2 separate regions of the Homo sapiens genome follow, and region 2 is linked to region 1. The links are contacts of gene promoters, found by promoter capture Hi-C in human tissues and cell types (Jung and others, 2019). All regions are on one chromosome and are shown on one strand. The core of a region is centred on a gene start or on the middle of the fragment in contact, and the rest is flanking DNA. Distances in the headings are between cores, read along the strand shown. Region 1 holds the start of PSMD3 (proteasome 26S subunit, non-ATPase 3). Region 2 has its middle 3.7 kb from the start of TOP2A.

Region 1 (2,803 bases), core at 106-2,605:
CCACCCCCCAGCCCTGGAGGGTGAGAGGACAGTTGAGGAGGAACTGGTCAAGGCATGTTCCCTAAAACTAGAGCACATATCTTTCCAGTTAGCGAGTGGCTGTTTAACGCAAGGAACATCCTGCAATCCTATGAAAGAGGATGCAAAAGATATGCAGGATACCCTTTATATATGCAAAGGAGGAGGTCAAAACATATTTCCTGCCTTCTAGGTCCTTACAACAGGGCTAGATTGTCTTGTAGGGTCCGTGAAAGGTCTAAAACTCAGGACTTCCACTTATGGGAGAGAGAAAAGTTTCAAGGTAGGGAGAGAGTTTTTGTTGTGTGTTCTAAGAAATTGGGAGCTATATCCTTCACCTTGTTTCACCTTCCCTGCAGAACCAGTGGGGCAGTCCTTTGAAAAATAAGTGGGTAGGGTTTCTTGTCCAATTTGCTTCCCCTTAGGTACACCACTAAGTAAACCATCATTCTCTCCTTAGGCACACCATTATTCTGTTCCCCATTTCACAATGTCTGTCTGGATGTATAAAAGCCCTCTCAATGGGCTCCCTAAAGCGTCTGCCAGTAGGGGCTCCCACCCTCTTTCCTCAACACTCCCAATCCACCGCAGCCCAGAGCACAGTGTCTGCTTATCTAACCATCTGACTCCCCCGTATACTACATTCTTGAGCTGTTTTTCACCCCCCTATTTGCTAACCGTGGGCCGTACATAGGGTGGACCCCTATATTTTGTTAAACTGGAGTGATTCTACGCAAATGCACGCTCCTACCTATCGGCACTCCCAGCCTGCAGAAATTGTATGCCTTATGTTCAGCACTAAACTCAAATCTAACCAAGGAAGTCCGGATCCCATAGGGTTCTTCCTACTCTCCAGTTCGGTTTATTTTAAGGCCAACAGCCCTAGCTTCACGTCCCTCCTTCACAGCCTTCTTTCCTTCCCTCCTGCCGGATGCGCCCGGCAGCCGTTGAGCACAAGCCCAGCGGATCTGGAAGGAGACCCCGCCGCGACCGGGGAAAATTGAGCGAACTTGGGCGCAAAACCCGCCCGGCAACTCGTGACGTCATCTCGTCCCGCGCTCGGATAGGCTGTACCCACTCCACGCTGGTTGAGGCGCTCTTAAAGTCCTTTGTAACCCAGATTGGAGCCTGAGGGGACCTCTCGTGGACGCCCACAGAAATGCACTCGAGAGGAACATAAAAGCATCACACTTAAGCGCTCGAAAGAAAGCCCCACGAACCCATAAAGGCTCCTCCCCGCTCCTTCCTCGAAGCTCCTCCTTCATCCTGCACCTCGGCTGTGGATTTATTTCCCCTTTGTTGACTCGGCCATCGGCCTGCCGGGCCTGGCGTTTCCCAGAAGGCCCAGCGCCGGGAAGGGGTTTGCAGCTGCTCCGTCATCGTGCGGCCCGACGCTATCTCGCGCTCGTGTGCAGGCCCGGCTCGGCTCCTGGTCCCCGGTGCGAGGGTTAACGCGAGGCCCCGGCCTCGGTCCCCGGACTAGGCCGTGACCCCGGGTGCCATGAAGCAGGAGGGCTCGGCGCGGCGCCGCGGCGCGGACAAGGCGAAACCGCCGCCCGGCGGAGGAGAACAAGAACCCCCACCGCCGCCGGCCCCCCAGGATGTGGAGATGAAAGAGGAGGCAGCGACGGGTGGCGGGTCGACGGGGGAGGCAGACGGCAAGACGGCGGCGGCAGCGGCTGAGCACTCCCAGCGAGAGCTGGACACAGTCACCTTGGAGGGTACGGCAGCCCAGGCCGGGAACGTGCCGCGATCGCGGGTGACAGCGACCCCTGTGATTTGGCTTCTTGCTGGGAAGCCACAGCAGCCTCCACCACCCTCAGTTCTTTGGGATCACCCCCAGATACCTGCTCCCACTGCCCCGACACTCCCGACTCCAGGCCCAATGACTGAACCTTCTCTCCAGGCTGGGAACCACTCCCCTCCCATCCCCTCCATCCCCATATCTGGGGTTGCATCTATATCTAGGTCCCAGTGGGCCTGGGGACTCCCTCTTTTAAGTCCTCCCCTCTGACCTATTCCGTTTATATCCCACCCGACTGATTTTAGCGCCTCCAATATATGACTGATTGTTCCCGCTGGAAACCAGTGTTTGTGTCTGTGTGTAAACAGGGCCAGGATGACCTAGAATATTGACTCCTGAGTTTTAAAACTGTACAGCAGATTTTTGTTGTCCTAGCTGCCTTTAGCACACTCCCCCGAATGAACCATTTCGACCTAGTATCTTGTTTCCTACTTCTCTAACTGAAGTGTCCCAACAGTCCCCTTGCTGTCTCCTCCCTTCAGGTCCTTACTGCCCCTCTGTTTCTAAAGGGTTTAAGTACATACACACTTAAAACTTTTCGGGTGTCATCTTTGTTTGGTTTTGTAATACTCAACCTTTGGCCTAAACTCCTATATACCGGTGTCTCCTATTTCTTTTCTCCGAGGTTCCTGTTTCGAGTGTCTGTAGTCCTCTTGTTCCTCCAAGTTCATGTTTTACTTTTCCCACTTACAGCGTCCTGTTTCCATTTGAAGTGGGCAAAGTGAGAGCTTCCCACTGTGATCCTGGTGCCATTTTCCTGGTTCTGGATCAAGTGGGACCAGACTACTTACTAGGTTTTCTTTTCACTAAAATGCGTGAGAAACTAGCTCAAAAACATTGAGATAAGCAAAGTTATCCTCCTAGGTGGTGCTTTTGAGGATGTGATGGTGTTGACTACATCAGCTCTTACTGTAAAGTTGAGCAACAGGATCGATATTTAATAGAGATCCTTTTACCTAAAGTAGTGGCAGCAATGTCAAA
Region 2 (2,700 bases), core at 88-2,587, 440 kb after region 1:
ACAGAAACCAGCCATGCTGGCTTCTACCTCCTAGAACGCACTACCTCCAAGGTAGTGGGGATGGTGGGCATGCTTCCCCAAGGATGGCAGCTCAGTTTCTGCAGCTCCCGGCCTCTACCCTGTAGCTCATCCCAGCCTGCAGTGACCCACTGGGCAATGAGGCAACAGGAATTTAACAAGCAGCTCCAGCCCTATTTTTTAGGGGCCCAGCTTTAAATCTGTCCTGCAGTTTAGCTGGATCCTGTGTGTCTTTGTTCCAAAAACCCAGAAGAAGTACTGTGGAGTCAAAAGGACTTTGGGGACCGGGTGTGGTGGCTCACGCCTGTAATCCCAGCACTTTGGGAGGCTGAGGTGGGTGGATCACCTGAGTTCAGGGGTTTGAGACCAGCCTGGACAACTTGGTGAAACCCCATCTCTACAAAAATACAAAAAAAAAAATTAGCCATGCCTGATGGCGGGTGCCTGTAATCCCAGCTGCTCGGGAGGCTGAGGTGGGAGAATAGCTTGAATCCAGGAGGCGGAGGTTGCAGTGAGCCGAGATCGTGCCATTGCACTCCAGCCTGGGCGACAGAGCAAGACCCCGTCTCAAAAAAACAAACAACAACAACAACAAAAAACACAAAAGGACTTTGGGGCCACACACACCTAAGTTAGAATTCTTCCTGGGTCTCTTGGTTTCCCCATGCCATTATCCTTTATCAAAGACACAGAGGGCAAAATGAGATATGCAAGTGTCGGGGACAATCCTTTTCCAGCTCTGTAGCACAAGGTGGTCTTGCTCTGGCCCACCCCCCTTCTCTTCTGGGTACAAGCTATTTCTCTGCCAGTCCCTCCCTCTTCCCAGAGCCTATTGCAGGGGGTCCTGCAGGACTTGTGGGGACTATTGAAGAAAGAATAGTGGTGGGGGTCTGGGATGGGTGGGCCTGGAAGGCATTGCACACAAAGAGGGAACTGCAGGGCCGGGCACGGTGGCTCACGCCTGTAATCCCAGCACTTTGGGAGGCCGAGGCGGGTGGATCACGAGGTCAGGAGATCGAGACCACCCTGGCTAACAAGGTGAAACCCCGTCTCTACTAAAAATACAAAAAATTAGCCGGGCGCGGTGGCAGGCGCCTGTAGTCCCAGCTACTCGGGAGGCTGAGGCAGGAGAATGGCGTGAACCCGGGAAGCAGAGCTTGCAGTGAGCCGAGATTGCGCCACTGCAGTCCGCAGTCCGGCCTGGGCGACAGAGCGAGACTCCGTCTCAAAAAAAAAAAAAAAAAAAAAAAAAAGAGGGAACTGCAGGTGCCTGCCAGTCCTGGGAGGCAAGAAGGGGTTGGGGGTAGTTCCAGGGGGCTGTGGTGGGGGGAGGGGAAAGATACCATCCTCATTATCCACCCACCCTGCCCCCACTCTGCAGGGGCCCAAAGTAGCTACCTGGACATTACCCCCTCCCTCCCCCAACCTGTACTTGAATATGTGGTTGAGTACTTAAGGCAGATCCCTGACTAGGGTATTTGCTGGGTATATGACTTTGGGCAAGTCACTCAGTCTCCCTTACAAGTTCAGTTGTAGATCAAATTGACTTTTATTTGTGATTCATGAATTGGGGCAGCCCCCATTCTACAAAATAGAATGAAAGCTTCCATTGGGCAATAGCAGAATGGTGGGTTTTGTAAGGTGGGAACCAGGAAACAGCAATAGGAAAAAACCTGATTGGTTAACATCAGGTACTTCAGGTTACTTTTTTGTGGAGTTAAAGCAGAGGGGACTTCCTTATTAAACTGACTTAGGTAGATTGGACTCTCCTGTTTTCAGGAAAAAGTGGTCTGTTTTGGAATCTATCTGCTTCTTTAAAGTTTCAGTTGGATTACATGGCATTTAGCACGAATTACTCCATCTTGGTTTGGTCTAGTCTTTTGGGGCCTAGTGTAGGAGCTCAGTTGAAAACAATGGCCTCCATAATTTTTTTTTTTAGACGGAGTCTCACTCTATTGCCCAGGCTGGAGTGCAGGGGTGCGATCTCGGCTCACTGCAACCTCGGTCTCCCGAGCTCAAGCAATTCTCCTGCTTCAGCCTCTGCAGCAGCTGAGATTACTGGCGTGCACCACCACACCCAGCTAATTTTTGTAGAGGCGGGTTTCGCCATGTTGGCCAGGCTGGTCTTGAACTCCTGACCTCAAGTGATCTGCCTGCCTTGGCCTCCCAAAGCACTGAGATTACAGGAGTGAGCCCCCGCTCCCAGCCAACCTCCCATAATTTTTTTTTTTTTTTTTTGAGACGGAGTCTCGCTCTTTCGCCCAGGCTGGAGTGCAGTGGTGTGATCTTGGCTCACTGCAACCTCCACCTCCCAGGTTCAAGCAATTCTCCTGCCTCAGCCTGCTGAGTAGCTGGGATTACAGGTGTCCACCACCACGCCCAGCTAATTTTTGTATTTTTAGTAGAGATGGGGTTTCACCATGTTGGTCAGGCTATTCTCGAACCCCTGACCTCGTGATCCACCCGCCTCGGCCTCCCAAAGTGCTGGGATTATAGGCGTGAGCCACGGCGCCCGGCCTATAATTTTTAACAATCTAAAATGGGGATAATGGGAGTACCTCCTCCTGCTCTTCATAGGGTGAGCTATCCTCATTATCCACCCACCCTGCCCCACTCTGCAAAATTCTTACACCAAATTCTTAGTGCATTGTCTGGCAAGTAATAAGTGCTCAAGACATGTTA

Evidence for each region. Contacts are between HindIII fragments. The study calls those that stand out against the background at their distance.
Region 2: a contact is called between a fragment that was not itself captured here and the fragment with the promoter of PSMD3 in region 1, in 1 of the 25 tissues and cell types used here (dorsolateral prefrontal cortex).

What each region holds. Positions count from the first base shown.
Region 1 is chr17:39,979,452-39,982,254 of GRCh38, forward strand. It overlaps PSMD3 (proteasome 26S subunit, non-ATPase 3), which reads left to right and starts at 1,356. Exons shown (of 12, transcript NM_002809.4): 1 at 1,356-1,739. The coding sequence starts at 1,520. RefSeq lists enhancers at 1-365, 787-966, 1,187-1,466, 1,267-2,244 and a silencer at 1,647-1,696. The HindIII fragment of the contact is 7,545 bases long and covers 1-2,803 here.
Region 2 is chr17:40,420,199-40,422,898 of GRCh38, forward strand. No RefSeq gene overlaps it. Among named protein-coding and RNA genes, the nearest start is that of TOP2A, 3.7 kb to the left of the region's middle. The HindIII fragment of the contact is 5,785 bases long and covers 1-2,700 here.